7 separate regions of the Homo sapiens genome follow, and regions 1, 2, 3, 4, 5 and 7 are each linked to region 6. Evidence: promoter capture Hi-C in human tissues and cell types (Jung and others, 2019). All regions are on one chromosome and are shown on one strand. The core of a region is centred on a gene start or on the middle of the fragment in contact, and the rest is flanking DNA. Distances in the headings are between cores, read along the strand shown. Region 1 overlaps SH3RF1 (SH3 domain containing ring finger 1). Region 2 overlaps NEK1 (NIMA related kinase 1). Region 3 overlaps SH3RF1 (SH3 domain containing ring finger 1). Region 4 has its middle 34 kb from the start of CBR4-DT. Region 5 overlaps NEK1 (NIMA related kinase 1). Region 6 holds the start of SH3RF1 (SH3 domain containing ring finger 1). Region 7 has its middle 15 kb from the start of CBR4-DT.

Region 1 (2,700 bases), core at 173-2,672, 170 kb after region 6:
ACGAGGCTATACACTCATTTTCTGACTTTGAGAACCAAATGAAAGTAGAAACCCAAAATCAACTTTATGACTGACTACTCATTACTTAGCATCAAACAGTGAAAGATGTATTTATTAGATATCTGTTGCCATGTAACCAGTTACGCCCAAAAGTCAGTGGCTTAAAACAATAATAAGCATGTATTATTTCACACTTTCTGTGGGTCACATAATTATGGAACAGCTCATCTGGTTGGTTCTGGCTTAGAGTATTTCTTGAGATTGTAGTCAAGACATCAGCCTGAGCTGATGCTCAACTGGGGCTGGAGGATCCCCTTCTAAGATGGCTTATTCACATCACTTTTTCTGGTTAGTTTAGGCTTTTGGAAAGAGGCCTCAGTGCCTTACCATGTGTTTCCTCTCCATAGAGATGTTGAGTGTCCTCACAACATGGCAGCCAGTTTTCCTGAGTGACCGATCCAAGAGAAAGTAAAGTGGAAGCCATAATGCCTTTTATGATCTAGCCTCAGAAATCACCCACTGTCATTTCTGCAACATTTTATTGGCCACACAGGTCATCCTGTGCATCATAGGAGGAGACTACACAAGAGTGTGAATACCAGGAAGCAAGGATCACTAGGGCCATCTTGGAGGTTGGCTACCATACACCACCATTCTTTTCCCCCCTTTTGTTGAGAAGAGGAGTAATGCAAATAATGCTGGAAAAATAGAGAAAGATAAAAGGATATAGAGTGTAAAACAAGTCACCTCCCTCTCGTTTCCTACAAGCTGTAATTCTGCACAGGAAGGCTAAGGAGCATGGAGGCAGGGGCACAGATAATATTAAACCAACTAAGCTTCTGCCATTTTTAAGCGATAATGACACCTTTCCCACTAACTCCAAATTCTGAGCCAAGGAGAAACAGACCCAAATGTCAGAATAATAGAGATGAGAATGTCAACCTCGTTACTGGTAATGTTGGATTGAACTTGTGGCCATAGCCCTCCCCTCCATGTCTGGACCTTGGGACTACCTTCCCAAGGGATAATCTGGGTATGTGGGGCAGATTACCTTCCTCAGAATTGCTGCCTCGCCCATGTCAAACACCAGTGTAAGGGACGTAGGGACACAGAGACAGACTTCCAGACTCACCTTCCTGACCTCTGTGTGCTTACAACATAGAGGTGGAGCAGAGCCTCCTTAGCCTGTGGGCAGGCGGTTCAGAGAGGACTGAACCCCCCCTGCTCAGCTACTTCTCCCAGTCTCACCAATCAAATAAATTCACTCCTGTTTCCTTGGAGAAGAGGGAGGGATAGAAATGATACCCCTCTCGGGAAATGAAATGAAACTCTCCTTTATGGCCAAGATACAAACACTGGTAGGGAACAAGGATGGCTGTCCTTGTTAAGGTCACTCAGATGAACCAGTCTGGGCCATCAGTAGTGGGTTGACACACATATCCAAATCCAGTCTTTGTTAGTACTAAGTCTCTACTAAACAGAAAATAGCAGTATTTTGAGTTGTTTTACAATCATAAATGAATTAATGTTATTTCCTATTTATGTTGAAGGTTCGTGCAGACTAACAGTACACCATTTTTTAAAATCACTGCTTTGAATCGCCTTAACCAAAATCTCTTTCTTTTCTAGGCACAGGGTGGTGGTTTCCTATCCTCCTCAGAGTGAGGCAGAACTTGAACTTAAAGAAGGAGATATTGTGTTTGTTCATAAAAAACGAGAGGATGGCTGGTTCAAAGGCACATTACAACGTAATGGGAAAACTGGCCTTTTCCCAGGAAGCTTTGTGGAAAACATATGAGGAGACTGACACTGAAGAAGCTTAAAATCACTTCACACAACAAAGTAGCACAAAGCAGTTTAACAGAAAGAGCACATTTGTGGACTTCCAGATGGTCAGGAGATGAGCAAAGGATTGGTATGTGACTCTGATGCCCCAGCACAGTTACCCCAGCGAGCAGAATGAAGAAGATGTTTGTGTGGGTTTTGTTAGTCTGGATTCGGATGTATAAGGTGTGCCTTGTACTGTCTGATTTACTACACAGAGAAACTTTTTTTTTTTTTTAAGATATATGACTAAAATGGACAATTGTTTACAAGGCTTAACTAATTTATTTGCTTTTTTAAACTTGAACTTTTCGTATAATAGATACGTTCTTTGGATTATGATTTTAAGAAATTATTAATTTATGAAATGATAGGTAAGGAGAAGCTGGATTATCTCCTGTTGAGAGCAAGAGATTCGTTTTGACATAGAGTGAATGCATTTTCCCCTCTCCTCCTCCCTGCTACCATTATATTTTGGGGTTATGTTTTGCTTCTTTAAGATAGAAATCCCAGTTCTCTAATTTGGTTTTCTTCTTTGGGAAACCAAACATACAAATGAATCAGTATCAATTAGGGCCTGGGGTAGAGAGACAGAAACTTGAGAGAAGAGAAGTTAGTGATTCCCTCTCTTTCTAGTTTGGTAGGAATCACCCTGAAGACCTAGTCCTCAATTTAATTGTGTGGGTTTTTAATTTTCCTAGAATGAAGTGACTGAAACAATGAGAAAGAATACAGCACAACCCTTGAACAAAATGTATTTAGAAATATATTTAGTTTTATAGCAGAAGCAGCTCAATTGTTTGGTTGGAAAGTAGGGGAAATTGAAGTTGTAGTCACTGTCTGAGAATGGCTATGAAGCGTCATTTCACATTTTAC
Region 2 (2,700 bases), core at 19-2,518, 150 kb before region 6:
TGCTAGTCCTATAAAAGTTTAGGACATACAATTATGTACAGTACCTAATGCTTGACAACAATAATAATTGACTGCATGCCTGGTTTGTGTATTTTTAATACTTTACTTTTTATCATTATTTTGGAGTGTTCTACGTATTAAAAGAAAGTGAACTGTAAAACGGCCTCAGGCAGGTCCTTCAGGAGGTATTTCAGTGTATAGTGTATAGTTATCACAGGAGATGACAGCTTCATTCGTGTTATTGCCCTTGAAGACTTTCTAGATTGGAGGTGGAAGACAGTGATGTTGATGATCCTGACCCTCTGTAGGCATAGGCTGACGTGTGTGTTTGTGTCTTCAAGTTTATAAAGTGAAAAGGTTACAGTAAGATAAGGTTAATTTATTGAAGACAGAAAATTTTTAAATACATTTAGTGTAGTCTATGTATACAATGTTTATAAAGTCCACAGTAGTGTACGCTAATGTCCCAGGCCTTCACATTTCACTCACCACTCACTCACTGGCTTACCCAGGGCAACTTCCAGTTCCACAAGCTCCATTCATGGTAAGTACCTATACAGGTGCACCATTTTTAATCTTTTATATGGTATTTTGACTATACCTTAGTGTTTAGATAGACAAATATTTACCATTGTATTACAATCTTCTATAATATTGAGTGTAGTAACATGCTATACAGGTTTTGTAGCCTAGGAACAATAGGCTGTACCACATATCCTAGATATGTAGTAGGCTAATACCATCTAGGTTTGTGTAATTACACTCTATGATGTTCACACAATGACAAAATTGCCTAACAACACTTTTCTCGTAACGTATCTTTGTTAAGCAAAGCATGACTGTACTTCCATTCCCGTCCTGCCTGTCCTTCGTGGTATTGTTGTCGGGTATTTTTTCTACCACGTTATAAATTCCACAATACATTTTTATTATTTTTGCTTAAACATTCATTTATCTTTTACAGAAGTCAGAAATTGGAAAGTATTTTATATTTACATGTTTACTATTTCTGACATTTTTTGTTCCTTTGTGCAGAATTCAAGTTTCTATCTGGTATTCTTTTTCTTCCACTTTAAGAACTTCCATTAACACTTCTTACACAGCCCTGTTGATGATGATTTTTTTTTTCAGATTTTGTTTGTATGAAAGTGTTTTCATTTCACCTTCATTTTGAGTGGATATTTTCACTAGATATAGAATTATATTGTCTTCTGGGTTGCATTGTTTCTAAGAAATATGTGAGCTTTCTTATCTTCATGTATATAGAGTATCTTTCTCTCTGGCTTCTTTTACAGTTTCCTTTTTATCACTGGTTTCTAGCATTTTGATTATTAAATGCTTTGGTAAGGGTTTTGGGGAGTAAGGTTTTTGGAGTAAGGTTTTATAGGACTAGCAGTGTGGTAGGTTTGTTTATATCAGCATCACCACAAACATGAGTAATTCATTAAACTATGACACTACAATGCCATTAGGTGGTGAGAGGAATTTTTCAGCTTTATTATAATCTTATGGGACCAATGCTGTATATGGGGTCTGTAATGTGTGTGTGTTTATCCTGTTTTGGGGTTCATTGATCTTCTTGGACCCTTAGGTTTATACTTTTCATTAAATTTGGAAAAGTTTTGGCTATTATTTCAATTAAATATTTTTTCTCTCTCTCTACTACCTTTTCTGTGACTCCAGTTACATATGTTAGACTCTTTGATACCATTCCACGGGTCACTAAGATTATGTTCATTTTGTTTTCAGTCTTTTTTTCTCTCTGTACTTCCTTGTGGATAAATTCTATTAGTATGTATTCATGTTTACTTATCTTTTTTCTGCAATAATATACTATTAATCCCACTCAGTGAACCTTTTATTTCGATATTGTGTGTTTTATCTTTAGAAGTTGTTTTTGTGTCTTTCATTTCTCTCCACATTATGTTCGTGTTTATCCTTTAATACTCCATTAAAATAGCTGGCTTAATATCCTTATGTGCGAGTTCCATCATCTCTGTATCTTCTTCTGTTGACTTATTTTTCTACTGGTTATGGATCATATTGTCCTACTTCTGGGTGTGTTTTATAATTCTTTATTTGAAGGTGGACCTTGTGAATATTATATTCCTAGGTCTCTGATTTTTTTGTTATTACTATCTTCCTGTAAAGAGTATTGGGTTTAAGTTAGTCAAGTTACTTGTGGATCTATTTTACACTTTTAAACTTTGTTTTTAAGCTTTGCTAGGACAAGTGTAAAGTTGTCTTCATTCTAGAGCTAGTTAACTTATTTCCAAGGCATGACCCTCTAGGGCCTCCACTGTACATCACAGGTGATCTTGAGGAAACACCTCCCTCCCGGTCAGTTTGATCATCTCCTACCTGCATGAGCTCTGAGCATTGTTCAGCTTACAACTCCCCAGCTGTTTTGGCCTAGCTTTGTGAAGTTTCATTCTGCATATTCATGGCCTGTGCTCATCAAAGACTCAAGAAAACTACCTTGCAAAGTTTTGAAGTTTTTTTTGTTTTATTTTAATGAATCTCTCTTTTCTAGTTCTACCTCCCTGGACTTTGATCTTTGTCTCATCAGTCTAGCAAGGCTGCACCCAAAGTCCAGATATTTTCTCCAGGCAGAAAGCCAGTTTAGTGGTAGGGTTTACTTCATTCATTTCCCTTCTCACAGGGATCACAGTCTTGTGCTGCTTATTGTTTAATATCTAA
Region 3 (2,700 bases), core at 21-2,520, 150 kb after region 6:
TCTTCATCTGTTTGCTCACATACACACAAATTTACACATGCAAACATGCATGCACTGGGAAAAGATCTGCCCAATTGTATTAAACCATTTATGTTTCAGCCACAGAAAGTGAGAGAGAACTCTTTTCTGTCAGGAAGAACCTTTGGGATCTTTCAGAATATCCTCTTTGATGCCATATCTTAATGTCTAACTCTCACTGTTTGCAAAAGTAATGTACATGAAACATTTAACTTAGTGTATTTTGTGACAAGAAGTGATTTTATATTTTATTACAAAATTTTATTTATATTACAAAAGATGACATGTTTTTATCAGGTGCATAGATGATTTTTGTCCTTTTCTTTTTAGGTCAAATTAGTACAGCCTCTGTTTTAATAAAGTTAAGCTATAATAGATGATTTTAATTTCTGTTTGAGCACATGCCATTAGTTTTCTGCCTTTCCACAGCCACACTGTTTTGAGATTGAGCTTAGAAAGATTTAAATGGAAATCAGTGAAGTGGTAATTTTACAGTTTCTCCATATATTACTCTATATACAGTGTAGACCGATTATCTCACCTGTCAAACTGCTGATGCATTATTATCCATGAACTGTCCAGGTCACATTTGCTGTGACCAGGATTATCTTTATCTCTGCTTTGTCACTGGAAAGAAGCCTAACAGGATAAATGCTTGCCCTTCTCCTGGTTAAAGGTTTTGGAGGCTCTAAGCCTCAGTACATGCAAATTCCAGAGCTATAACAATTTTTTTTTTTTTTGAGACGGAGTCTTGCTCTGTCACCCAGGTTGGAGTGCAGTGGCGCAATCTTGGCTCACTGCAAGCTCCGCCTCCCGGGTTCACGCCATTCTCCTGCCTCAGCCTCCCGAGTAGCTGGGACTACTGGCACCCGCCATCACACCCGGCTAATTTTTTTGTATTTTTAGTAGAGATGGGGTTTCACCGTGTTAGCCAAAATGGTCTCGATCTCCTGACCTCGTGATCCGCCCGCCTCAGCCTCCCAAAGTGCTGGGATTACAGGCGTGAGCCACTGCGCCTGCGAGCTATAACAAATCTTAATGGTGCCATATTTTGAATTGAGAATGTGAGCCACATTTTCCTGACGTTCCAACTTTTTGAGCTAACCTCTGCCTTCTCCTGGTTTGCACTTTGTAAGTGGCTCTGCACCTCATTTGTTTCTGCACTAAATGTTCTGCAACCACTTTAGCTACAGTGTGGGAAAAATCTTTATTGAAAGTCGCTTTAGCAAAAAATTAAACATAATGCATCGAATAGTTACAGCGTGCGTCTAGAAATTTGAAATTTTTTTCCACTCAGTTCGTTATGTTTCTGGAACTATGTATGTCTATATTAACAGCCAGATGTATTATAGTGAATGGTGATGAAATTCAAATTTTTATTCCAAAAAACAGAAATAAGATGACTGGTATAAGCTCTGTTTAGAAATCATTGGATCTTTATTTTGTTAATATGCTGACATATAGAAGCCATTTACACTTAACTAGGTAAATTCTTTAGTCTTCTTATTTCTCCTTTGACTTAGTTTTTACATCTAGTTGTTCAAAGATCTGGAGAGGACGAGGTAGCGGTTCAGGCAGTCTTTGTGTGCCTGTTTTCCCAAGAGTTTCAGTATACAGACCCTAAAGAATTATCTGGGTTTATAGATCAGAAGGTAACAATTGCTCCATTGATTTTCAAAAGGCATGGAATCCTGTAGGCAGAACCCCATTAGGCTGTGCCCATAAAGGAACCAGCAGCTTTTCACTGGTGTACTTGTTAAAGATTACCAGCCTCGATAGTACCAAATTTCAAAAGCTGGCAAAGTTAAGAAAAGAATAAGCAAAAGTAGCAACAATGGTCCAGTGACTGTGGCTTACTATTGTTTGGGCTTTTTGTAGACCAGGCATCAAAGGAAATTTTCTTCTGAAGGAATGATTTGAGATATAGTACAGCTACATTGTGTGTTGTGTTTAAGTTTCAGATTACAGAAACAATCACAAATTAATTCCTAGCAAGCAGCATGACATGGCTACCCGCCTCGAAAGGCATTTGGATCCTTGTCCAAGTCCATACTTTAAAATGCTATTAATCTTAAGATTACATGCAATTGTTTCATTTTTTTTCTTTCCCTCCTCCCAAGGGTGATTACTTACCTGCTTGCTGAAAAGGTTGCTTTGGCTTTAATATTTTAAAGGAGAACAAGAGATGAATTTGTAGAAGCAGGCTTTCATATCAGTTAGCCTGCTGATTCTGCCCTGTGTGGATTCCATTAAAGTCTTGTTCTATGGATTTATAATTCTTTTTCTCTCCCACCTTCCATAGGAAGATGTAAATCAGTATTTTGTTCCCTTTTTTCCCTTTCTCTTTATGTTTTTCCTATACTAGACTTTGAATCCTCCTCTTCCACCACCCCCTCTCCTGGCTGCCACTGTCCTTGCCTCCACACCACCAGGCGCCACCGCCGCTGCTGCTGCTGCTGGAATGGGACCGAGGCCCATGGCAGGATCCACTGACCAGATTGCACATTTACGGCCGCAGACTCGCCCCAGTGTGTAAGTGAGCGTGTCGTCTGTTACTGCTTATGTGTTCATTTAAACGAAGTCCAAACCTCAGAGGTCAAGAAACACCTTTCTGACATGAGCTGATGACAGCGTTATGGCTCACCAAGCGGTCTGTGTCCTGCAAACTTCTACCTGGTCATG
Region 4 (2,700 bases), core at 127-2,626, 230 kb after region 6:
CATTCTGCCTTTGTTCTGCCTAAAATACAGGTGTGATGACTGGAGATGCAGAAGCCATTCCATTATATCAACATAACATGATAAGCCAAGACCCTAAAGATGCTGAGAAAAATGGTCAAAAGAGCTTGGGGTTTTTTTGGTTTTTTTGTTTGTTTGTTTTGTTTTTTTTGAGGCAGTGGTCTCACTGTGTTGCCCAAGCTGGTCTCAAACTCCTGGCCTCAGGCTTCAGCCTCTCAAAACTGCTAGGATTACAAGTGTGAGCCACTGCATGAGACTGGGCTGTTTTTTGTTTGGTTTGGTTTTTTTAGAGACAGGGTCTTGCTCTGTCACCCAGGCTAAAATGTAGGGATGTGATCATAGCTCACTGCAGCCTCAACCTCCTTGGCTCAAGTGATCCTCCCACCTCAGCCTCCCAAGTAGCTGGGAATACAGACATGCACTACCACACCCAGCTAATTAAAAAAACAAAGTTTAGTAGAGACGGAGGTCTCCCTATGTTGCCCAGGCTGGTCTCGAACTCCTCACCTCAAGTAATCCTCCTACCTTGGCCTCCCAAATTGTTGGAATTACAAGCGTGAGCCACCATGCCCAGTACTGTCTGGTTTCTTAATAACATTGTTGAGCCATTGCAATAGCCTTGGGATATTGCTCTTTGTACTTTTTCTTATGCAAGAAAAACAGATTCACAAGTTATTTGATGACTCTCTTCCCATCAAAAGGAAAAGTCTAATTCTTTTTCCCTTGATTATGGATCAGCTTGAGCTTGTTGCTTCTAACAAATGGAAGAGAGCAACATGCTGGAGTGATCACATGGAGGAAGCACAAAGGGATACATGCCCAAGGGGCCCCAGCTGTTCCAGCCCCTAGACATTTGAATCTACTCAGGCACCAAGTAAGCAGGTGAATAGCCTTCAGGTGATTGCGGCCCACTCCCAGCTGAAGCCAAGTGGAGCGCAGATGAGCTTCCCCTGCTGAGCCCTGCCCAAATTGCAGATTTGGAAGCAAAATGAATATTGTTTTAAGCCACAAATTTGTGAGTGTTTTGTTACATAGTATAAGGAGCCAGAACAGCTCTACAGATGTAAATTATAGTCAGATATGTTGCTATTTATAACCAAAGCATTCCTAACTTATAAATGTTTCAACATTAATAAGCAGAAGAAAGTGTAATAATCTTATCAAGGTAATACAAGTTACTTGTTTAATATAACCACCTTCATGGCAAGCCTCAATTTCATAACCTAATCACTTTGAGTACAACTTGGACCTAATGGGTAGCTTTTTTTTTTTTTTTTTTTTTGAGACAGGGTCTTGCTCTGTCACCCAGGATGGAGTACAGTGACACAATCATGGCTCAGCACAGTCTCAAACTCCTGGGCTGAAATGATCCTCCTACCTCAGCATCCTGAGTAGCTGGGACTAAAGGCAGGCCCCACTATGCCCAGCTAATTTATAATTTTTTTTTTTTTCTGTAGAGATGGAGCCTTGCTATGTTGCCCAGGCTGATCTTGAGCTCCTGGGCTCAAGCAGTCCTCCAGCTCAACATCCCCAAGTATTGGGATTATAGGCATGAACCACCACTCTTGGCCTCTGTGTAGCATTTTATAGAAAATATAAAGTTGATATTATAAATTTTATATTAACAGATTTCTATAATTAAAAATCTTGGCTAGATTGTTTTTCCTTTACTCTTTTTTTTTGAGATGGAGTTTCACTCTTGTTGCCCAGGCTGGAGTGCAATGGCACCATCTCGGCTCACTTCAACCTCTGCCTCCCGGGTTCAAGTGATTTTCTTGCCTCAGCCTCCTGAGTAGCTGGGATTACAGGCATGCACCACCACGCCTGGCTAATTTTGTATTTTTAGTAGAGATGGGGTTTCTCCATGTTGGTCAGGCTGGTCTCGAACTCCCAACCTCAGGTGATCCGCCCGCCTCAGCCTCCCAAAGTGCTGGGATTACAGGCATGAGCCACCATGCCTGGCCTCCTCTACTCTTTCATTAGTAGAGTTAATATCCATTCATTGCGCACTTGCTATGTGCTAGGTGCTAAGGACACAATAGTGAACAAGATTAATCACCTGAGATCCTTGTCCTAATGAAGCTTACCTTCTGGGGGGGAAAACATGATAAAAATGCAGACAAGTATGTTAATATAATAATTTCAGATCATAATGTGAAGAAATTAGTGTGGGATATGTGGGGGAGATGGGGAATAGATAGTTTTGCTTTAGTTAAAATGTCAGGGAAGGCATCTCTAAAGAAGAAACATCAGAGATGAGACCTGGATGATGAAGGGAGCCAGCCATGGGAAGTTCTGGGGTAGAAGTGCTTCAGACTAAGGGAATAGCCAGTGCAAAGAGCCTGTAGCCAGAATAAGGTTGGTAGAGTCCAGAACAGAAATTAAAAAAAAGTGGGGACAGAGGGTGGGGTGGGGGAGATGGTACTAAGTGAGAGAAGGGGAGCAGACAGGACCCATATCCCTTAGGTCCTTGTAGGCCATAGTAAAGAATCTGGAAGTTATTTCTGTAAGTGCAATGTTAAAGGTACTGACAGGATATGCTTTGCACTTTTAAAAGATCACACTATGGAGAATGGAGTGCAGAGGGGCAAGAGTTGAAGCAAGGAGACCCATTAGAAGGCTGTGGCAGTAATCAAGAAGAGATGATTACGGCTTGATTACACATTGGCAATGGAGGTGGTG
Region 5 (2,700 bases), core at 92-2,591, 180 kb before region 6:
TTTTCCTTTAATAGTCAGGTCCCTCAGCTGCAGATCTGTTAGAGTTTGCTGGAGTTCCACTCCAGACCCTGTTTGCCTGGGTACCACCAGTGGAGGCTGCAGAACAGCAAATATTGAAGAACAGCAAATATTGCTGCCTGATCCTTCCTCTGGAAGCTTTGTCCCAGAGTGGCAGCCACCTATATGAGGTGTCAGTCAGCCCCTACTGGGAGATGTCTCCCAGTTAGGCTGCGTGGGGGTCAGGGACCCAGTTGAGGAGGCAGTCTATCTTTTCTCAGAGCTCAAGCACCATGCTGGGAGAACCACTGCTCTCTTCAGAGCTGTTAGACAGGGTCGTTTAAGTCTGCAGAAATTGTCTGCTGCCTTTTGTTCAGCTATGCCCTGCCCACAGAGGTGGAGACTACTGAGGCGGTAGGCCTTGTTGAGCTGCGGTGGGCTCCGCCCATTTTGAACTTCTGGGCAGCTTTGTTTACCTACTCAAGCCTCAGCAATGGCGGATGCCCCTCCCCGAGTCAGGCTGCTGCCTGGCAGATCCATCTCAGACTGCTGGGCTAGCAGTGAGCAAGGCTCTGTGGGCGTGGGACCTGCCGAGCCAGGCACAGGAGAGAATCACCTAGTCTGCCGGTTGCTAAGACCTTGGGAAAAGCACAGTATTTGGGTGGGGAGTGTCCCGTGTTTCCAGGTAGTCTGTCACGGCTTCCCTTGGCTAGGAAAGGGAAATCCCCCGACTCATTGCGCTTCCCAGGTGAGGTGATGCCCCACCCTGCTTCGGCTCACCCTCCGTGGGCTGCACCCACTGTCCAACCAGTCCCATTGAGATGAACCAGGTACCTCAGTTGGAAATGCAGAAATCACCCATCTTCTCCATCAAGCACGCTGGAAGCTGTAGACTGGAGCTGTTCCTATTCCGCCATCTTGGAACTCCTGTTGAGTCTTCTTTTTTAATCTATTCAGCCACTCTCTGTCTTTTGATTGGAGAGTTTATTCCATTTACATTCAATGGGATTATTACAAGTAAAGACTTAATTCTGCCATTTTGTTATTTGTTTTCTGGTTGTTTTGTGGACTTCTCTTCCTTCCTTCCTTCATATCTTCATTTTAGAGAAGGTGATTTCTTTAGTGGTATGTTTTAATTTCTTGCTTTTTATTTTTTTGCGTATCTGTTGTATGATTTTTTATTTTTGAGGGTACTATGAGGTATAAATACTATCTTATAACCCACTATTTTAAACTGATGACAACAGTGATTGCAAAAACAGATACCAAACAAGCAAATAAAAAACTAATAAAGACTCTAACTTTGTCCCTCACTTTTCAACTTTTTGTTTCTATTTGTATCTTACTGTATTGTCTCTCAAAAAGTTGTAATTTTTTTTTTCTTGAGACAGGGACTCACTCTGTCACCCAGGCTGGAGGGCAGTGGCACAATCTCAGCTTACTACAACTTCCACCTTCTGGCTCAGGTGATCTCACATCAGCCTCCCAAGCAGCTGGGACTACAAGCATGTCCCACTGCTTGTAGCCACCACACATGGCTAAATTTTTTTGTATTTTTTTTTTGTAGAGAAAGGGTTTTGCCTGTTGCCCAGGCTGGTTTCATGTTGCATGTTGCCCAGGCTGGTTTCAAATTCCTGGGTTCCAGCAATCCTCCCACCTCAGCCTTCCAAAGTTCTAGGATTACAGGCATAAGCCATCACACCTCACATAATGTTTATTTATTTTATTTCATTTTATTTTTTGAGACAGAGTCTCACTCCGTTGCCCGGGCTGGAGTGCAGTGGCACGATCTCGGCTCACTGCAGCCTCCACCTCCCGGGTTCAAGTGATTCTCCTGCCTCAGCCTCCCGACTAGTCTGGATCACAGGTGTGTGCCACCACACCTGGCTAATTTTTTTGTATTTTTAATAGAGATGGGATTTTAGCATGTTGGCCAGGCTGGTCTCAAACTTCTCACCTCAAGTGATCCACCCGCCTTCACCTCCCAAAATGCTGGGATTACAGGCGTGAATAATTTTTATTTTCAATCAGTTCATCTTTTAGTCTTTCTACTCAAGATATGAGTAGCTTACACACCACAATTACAGTGTTCTAATATTCTGTGTTTTTCTGTATACTTACTATTACTGGTGAATTTTACACCTTCAGATGATTTCTTATTACTCATTATTGTCCTATTCTTTCATATTAAAGAACTCCTTTTAGCATTTCTTATGGGACAGGTCTTGTGTTGATGAAATCCCTCAGCTTTTGTTTGTCTGGTAGTCTTTATTTCTTCATTATGTTTGAAGGATATTTTCTCTGGATATACTATTTTAGGATAAAAGTTTTTTTCCTTCAGTACTTTAAATATGTCCTGTCACTCTCTCCTGGCCAGTAAGATTTTTGCTGAAAAGTCTGCTGCCAGACACAAAGTCTGCTGCTGCTTTTCTCCTTTGTTTGTCTTTGACCTTTTGGAGTTTGATTAGTAAATGTCTTGAGGTAGTCTTCCTTGGATTACATCTGCTTGGTGTTCTATAACCTTCTTGTAGTTGAATATTGGTATCTTTTTCTAGGTTCAGGAAGTTCTCTGACATTATCCCTTTGAATAAACTTTGTACCCCGGTCTCTCTACTTCCTCGTTACAACGAATCACTCTTAGATTTGCCCTTCTGAGTCTGTTTTTTAGATCTTGTAGGTATTCCTTATTCTTTTTCCTTTGTT
Region 6 (2,700 bases), core at 113-2,612:
TGTCATAATTTTTTCAGGCTTATGTGATCCTTATGTCTTGAATGGTTTAGCTGTGGCCCTAGCTGGAGACTAGAGGATAAACTGAGACTCCTCGTCAAATCATAAACCTAGTTGGTGGCTGGGCAGAGATTTCTTGCATCATCTGTTGTAACCCTTTCTTCTTATAACCACCTAGTTTCTGCCCACCTTTGAGGAGGGGTATTTGGGATAACTTTTTGTAAATTGATGGTAAATGCAAATATAGTAATGTCAACTTTAGATCAGTGACAAAATTTTAACTTGCTTCTCCACTAAATCGAGACTGAAAAACCTCAAAACCTATGGACAAGATGTTTTTCAAAACTCCACTTCGGTTTACAGGTGTGTGCTTGGGGCAACCAAAACAAAGATTACTGCGATGATGGCAGCCACCCAGGCTCAGATAAAAGAGGCGCCTCTCAGCGTGCTTTGCGGTGCCAGCCCACCTGAGGTCAGACTCAATTCTCCCCACTTAGGGCAGGGATAACAGAGCCCCCGAGCCTGGGTTGGAAGTCCGTACTACCGTTTTCCTAGTCTTGGGCTTTGGGGTCAGCGGTCCTCCAGGCTTGCTCCGGTTTGGGTCCTGGGGTGACTGATGGCTGGGTGCGGACAGGTGGCCGCGGCACTGTCCCCATCGATTCACCACGCCGCTCTCGGCCCTAAGGGGCAACACTTCGCTCCGACTCTACCAAGTAAGTGTCCGGGGTGGGCAACCAGACGCAAAGCGCAGCGGGATCGGTTCCCGCCAGGGCTGCTCCCGCCGCCTCCGCGGACCCAGCCCCTCCCGCGCCGCGACTCGCCCAGCCTGGGGAGGAAGGGTCCGTCCAGGGCTCCCAGCCCCGCCGGGGGGAGGAGGAGGCGGCGGGACCCTGTCCCGGGGCTTCTTCCTGCTTCCCCCAGCCTCCACTCCCGCCGCCTTCCCGTCCGGTGGCTCCATTTTTCAGGCGCGTTCTCCTCAGGGAGAAGGCGTCCGTCCCCGAGCCTTCCCCTCGTAGTCCCCTGGGGGCCCCGCTCCCCATCCTCTAGGCTCTTGCAGCGCCCCCTCAGGCCGCCGCCCCAATCCCGCCCCCGGGCTCCGGCGGGGTACTGGGCGCAGGTCACCTCAGCGCGGGAGGCCGGCGCGGCGGCGGGTGGCTCCGAGAGGTGCCGCGCCCGCTCCCGGGGAAGGCGCTGTGGCGCGGGGCCGCCCCCTTGCGCCCCGGGCGCCGGCTGCGTCCCGGCCTCCTCCTCCTCTTCCTCCGCCCTCCTTGGCTGGGAAAGTGGGAGGCGGCGGCGGCGGCGTGGTGTGTGTGCGCGCGTGAGGGGGGCAGCAGAGAGGAGTCTCCCGGTGCCGCCGCGGCGTCAGAGACACTGCGAGCGGCGAGCGCGGTGGGGCCGCATCTGCATCAGCCGCCGCAGCCGCTGCGGGGCCGCGAACAAAGAGGAGGAGCCGAGGCGCGAGGTAGGGCGCGCGGCCGGCGCGGGGTCGACGGGGACCCAGCGTCGGCGGACCCCTAGCCGCGGAGAAGGCGGTGGTCTCGACATTCCCCCATCCCCGCCCTGGGTCGGTCTCTCTCTCCCCTCGCCCTCGGGTCCCCGTGGGCCGGGAATCAGGACCTGCGGAAGCGGAGCAGCCCGCGGCCTCTGCCTTCTCCGGGCAGGAAGCTGCCAGGGCTCCGTGCCGCGGTCTCCCCGGGCGCAGCCCAGCACCCCCTGCTTCCCGGATGGCGCGGTCTCTCTGGGGACTGTCGCCTTATCTTGGCTGGGCTAGAAAGCTGCTTCCCCGTGGCACTCTGTGGGGCTGAGTTTCGCAACTTAAGCCTGCGCATTTATTTTTAAGTCCTTGAAAACTTCCCGCAGTCGTGTAGAGGGATTTGTGTCCCCGGCCTGAGCTAAAGGGAGGCGGAGATGAGGGAGGCTGTAGGGTGAGATCCCCACGCCGGGACCGGCCGGGCCGCAGCCCCAGGCCGCGACCGGCTCCTGCCGGGTGCCGCCGACACCTGGCCCCGGGGTGTGTCTGCGGCGAGCGGCCGCCGCGCCTCCCTGCGGGCTTGGGAGTACCTGTGCTTGGCGCCGTGGGAGCGGGGGTGCAGCCCTGGGGCTCCCCCGCTCCGGCTTTGTCAAGAACAGCTGTTAATGCTCCCAGCCAAATCTTTTTACTCCCGTTCTCCTGGGCATTCACTTTTACATTTATTTTGGCGGTGGGGGGAGAGCGGCGCAGTAAGTGGCTTGCTTTTTCCTGAATGGCCTCATTTTCATATGCCCACAGTTTCCAGTCCAACCTTCCATTGTCGAATTCTTTTGGTGATAATTTTGCCAGCTTTTCTGAATGGGATTAGGACAGGCCGTTCAGAAATGTGTTTCAGAGTTTATCAACTACTGCCCTGAAGGGCGCTTTTCTGTTTTAGCTGCTTTCAAGCAAATCTGTGTCTTTTAGAATTGTCAACCTTCAGCTCTTTTTGGTTGGGCAAAATTAAACAGTTCTATTTTTAATAACAGCGAAGAAACATATGTATTTAATATTGGGATCATTTACCACGAGCGATTACATGAGGCATGGTTTCTTAAACGCTAAAGTGGCTTAAAAAAGGGAATTTAGTTGGATATAAAAGTAAATTTCAGGTAGAGGAAACTTTCAATGGCCTCTGTCAGCTTCTCCTATGAGTTGAAGACTTTATTAAGGCAGCTGATACCACTTTCAGA
Region 7 (2,700 bases), core at 120-2,619, 250 kb after region 6:
TAACATGCCATTTCTTCTTTTCTTTTTTTTCTTTCTTTCTCCTTTCTTTCTTTCTTTCTCTCTCCTTCCTTCCTTCTCTCTCTTTCTTTCTTCTTCCTTTCTCTCTCTCTCTCCTTCCTTCCTTCTTTCTCTCTTTCTTTCTTTCTTTCTCTCTCTCTCTCTCTCCTTCCTTCGTTTCTTTTTATTTTTCTTTCTTTCTTTTTTTGAGATAGTCTTGCTCTGTCACCCAGGCTGGAGTGCAGTGATGCAATCTTGGCTCACCACAGCCTTGATCTCCTGGGCTCAAGCAATCCTCCCACCTCAGACTCTTGGGTAGTTAGTACTACAGGCGCCACCACACCCAGCTAATTTTGGTAGAGACGGGATCTCCCTATGTTGGCCTGGCTGGTCTTGAACTCCTGGGCTCAAGCAATCTGCCCGCCTCAGCCTCCCAAAGTGCTGGGATTATAGGCATGAGCCACCGTGCCTGGCCTAGCATGCTCTTTGCGTGGCAAACCAGCTCATGCAAATAAACAGCTGTGTAGGGGACTTCGCCAGCCTCACCTGTCCAGACGTGAATCTCAGTGTAAGCTAAGAAAAGACCAACTGTGCACACTGTCTTCCTATTGGATCGCCTGTGTGAATTCAGTTGGTCTGACTGAATCACTAACTCCGTCCTCCCTCACTGCTCACTGTTTCTTTCCCTGGTGTTTGTTTATGTTACAATTAAAAATGACTGTTTTCCAATCAAGGATGTAGACCCAGTTAGAGCTTCTTTAGATTCCAGTGGGACAAAGGAAGCTCCCTGTTTTATACTTGGTCTTACCCAAAAGGACAAGAAGTGATCCCTCCTCTTTTCATTGCTGCCTTTTTGGCTTAGCGCATGCAACAGCAGTTGGGATGTGTGTTAGTTACCACGAAAATGCCAGTTGCTATAACAAAGAACCTGATAGAACAGAGATTTAAGCAAGAGAGAAGTTTATTCTCTCTCAGGTCTCAAAGCTGATATGGGACCTCTACCATGTCAAACATCCAGCCACCCATGCTGTTGTTACTCTGCCATACTCAACACACAGCTCCAATCCCTGTGTCCAGTATGGCTGCTCTGGCTCTCACCATCATGTCTATAACTAGCCAGCAAGAAGGTGGAAAGTAGAATAGAAGGAAATATTTTTTTCCTTTTATGGGCATGACCAGGAAGTTCCCACACAATTTTTGCTTAAATCCTGTTAACCTGACTTTAGAAGCATGGCCCTACTTAGCTGTAAGGGAGGTGAGGCTGGGAAGTATGGTCTTTATTCTGGATATTCTGTTATCACAACAGAATTATACACTTTCAGCATCTAGCAGAATCAGGTACAATGTCCTCTAGATTTGGGGCCAGACAGGAATGCTACAATTTTGGGTGGTGGTTCTCAACCAGGGCAATTTTGCTCCCCTCTACCCCACTCCGCCCCCATCCCCTTCTAGGAGACATTTGGCAATGTCTGGAGATATCATTGTTTGTCACAACTGTGAGGATGTACGTTACTGGCATCTAGTGGATAGATGCTGCAAATATTCTGTGGTGCACAAGACAACCCCCAACAACAACAAAAATTATACATCCTAAAATGTCAATATTGTTGAGTTTGAGAAATCCTGCCTTAGGAATCTATCTTTACAAAGTCTTAGCCCACCACATGTTAATCTCTCTCAGCTTTCATTTGTGGCTTTTCCAATACAATTTCTGAGATTCAGGCATATCAATGTGCTTCCAATAAATCAGAACTGTAAGACACTGTTAGCTCTGTTTGCCATAGGTCATTTTAACAAGAAAATGAAACTTTTTTGACCCCTATCCATAGTTCCACGACCACCATTACTTACCCAGCTTTAGTTCTGAAGAGAAAGGTTTCCTTCTTTGGGTTTTCTGAAGCTATTTAATAATATACAATAACCCACTAATCCAGAGTAAAGAAGAAATCTGTTCAATTAAAGGCAAGTGTAATTGTGTATAATTAATCATAGTCTTCTTAAGGGAAATAAACATAATTTGTTTTTAGTAAGAAGGAATCTATAATTATTCGGTGACAGAGGAAAAACCATTCATTAATATATCATGTTTACTTTGAATGTAGTGAAATGCATTGTAGTTTTTGCTGTTAGTTTTAGGCATGAAAAACTGTGTGTTAAATCTTGTCATTTCTGGTTCTGATAATCTGCTTTGATGACAGATTAAAAATGCAGTTTGTCATATCAGGACATTAATCTTAAATAATCTACCTGAGAGAACAGTACCAAACCCTCCGGAGAGGTTTCCAACATGAGATGGTGACACTTCTTAATAAGCTCAGGATTAGTGATGTAACTTGTCACTGGTTCAGCTGGAAAAAGTAGAAAAATGACACAGTTGCTGCAGTGACCACTCAGGAGTTGTGTTCTATAAATCTGGAAAATCAACTTCTGGAAATTCTCCCCTGAGATGAAGATGTACTGTGTGTCAGCCATGCATCACAGAAATCTTTCATTATTTTAGGTTGTTATTTAGACATCATATATTTTTCTTGTGGACAGACACAAGCATACTGTTCTTCATTTCCTATTCTTCCGGATCTGAGCACTTTCCTTTTGGGTTCATAGGACTTTGTAATTAACTCTCTTAAAACATCATTTCACAGGGAGTCACGTGCTACCTTTGCATTTTTATTCCATTTCTACCTATTTTATTTTTCATATCTT

Evidence for each region. The method cuts DNA at HindIII sites, captures the fragments that hold promoters and counts their contacts. A contact is called where the count stands out against the background at its distance.
Region 1: a fragment that was not itself captured here is called in contact with the fragment with the promoter of SH3RF1 in region 6 in 1 of the 25 tissues and cell types used here (dorsolateral prefrontal cortex).
Region 2: a fragment that was not itself captured here is called in contact with the fragment with the promoter of SH3RF1 in region 6 in 1 of the 25 tissues and cell types used here (mesendoderm cells).
Region 3: a fragment that was not itself captured here is called in contact with the fragment with the promoter of SH3RF1 in region 6 in 1 of the 25 tissues and cell types used here (dorsolateral prefrontal cortex).
Region 4: a fragment that was not itself captured here is called in contact with the fragment with the promoter of SH3RF1 in region 6 in 1 of the 25 tissues and cell types used here (lymphoblastoid cells).
Region 5: a contact is called between a fragment that was not itself captured here and the fragment with the promoter of SH3RF1 in region 6, in 1 of the 25 tissues and cell types used here (IMR-90 fibroblasts).
Region 7: a fragment that was not itself captured here is called in contact with the fragment with the promoter of SH3RF1 in region 6 in 2 of the 25 tissues and cell types used here (dorsolateral prefrontal cortex and mesendoderm cells).

The regions. Positions count from the first base shown.
Region 1 is chr4:169,095,617-169,098,316 of GRCh38, reverse strand. It overlaps SH3RF1 (SH3 domain containing ring finger 1), which reads left to right. Exons shown (of 12, transcript NM_020870.4): 12 at 1,630-2,700. The coding sequence ends at 1,798. Among named protein-coding and RNA genes, the nearest start is that of CBR4-DT, 87 kb to the right of the region's middle. The HindIII fragment of the contact is 3,239 bases long and covers 1-2,700 here.
Region 2 is chr4:169,417,765-169,420,464 of GRCh38, reverse strand. The region is part of intron 31 of NEK1 (NIMA related kinase 1); the gene reads left to right. Among named protein-coding and RNA genes, the nearest start is that of SH3RF1, 150 kb to the right of the region's middle. The HindIII fragment of the contact is 7,668 bases long and covers 1-2,700 here.
Region 3 is chr4:169,121,950-169,124,649 of GRCh38, reverse strand. It overlaps SH3RF1 (SH3 domain containing ring finger 1), which reads left to right. Exons shown (of 12, transcript NM_020870.4): 7 at 2,384-2,550. Among named protein-coding and RNA genes, the nearest start is that of CBR4-DT, 110 kb to the right of the region's middle. The HindIII fragment of the contact is 4,240 bases long and covers 1-2,700 here.
Region 4 is chr4:169,043,177-169,045,876 of GRCh38, reverse strand. No RefSeq gene overlaps it. Among named protein-coding and RNA genes, the nearest start is that of CBR4-DT, 34 kb to the right of the region's middle. The HindIII fragment of the contact is 5,908 bases long and covers 1-2,700 here.
Region 5 is chr4:169,446,908-169,449,607 of GRCh38, reverse strand. The region is part of intron 27 of NEK1 (NIMA related kinase 1); the gene reads left to right. Among named protein-coding and RNA genes, the nearest start is that of NEK1, 160 kb to the left of the region's middle. The HindIII fragment of the contact is 5,371 bases long and covers 1-2,700 here.
Region 6 is chr4:169,269,618-169,272,317 of GRCh38, reverse strand. It overlaps SH3RF1 (SH3 domain containing ring finger 1), which reads left to right and starts at 1,362. Exons shown (of 12, transcript NM_020870.4): 1 at 1,362-1,459. RefSeq lists silencers at 732-881, 922-1,681, 1,922-2,141. The HindIII fragment of the contact is 13,720 bases long and covers 1-2,700 here.
Region 7 is chr4:169,023,768-169,026,467 of GRCh38, reverse strand. No RefSeq gene overlaps it. Among named protein-coding and RNA genes, the nearest start is that of CBR4-DT, 15 kb to the right of the region's middle. The HindIII fragment of the contact is 5,084 bases long and covers 1-2,700 here.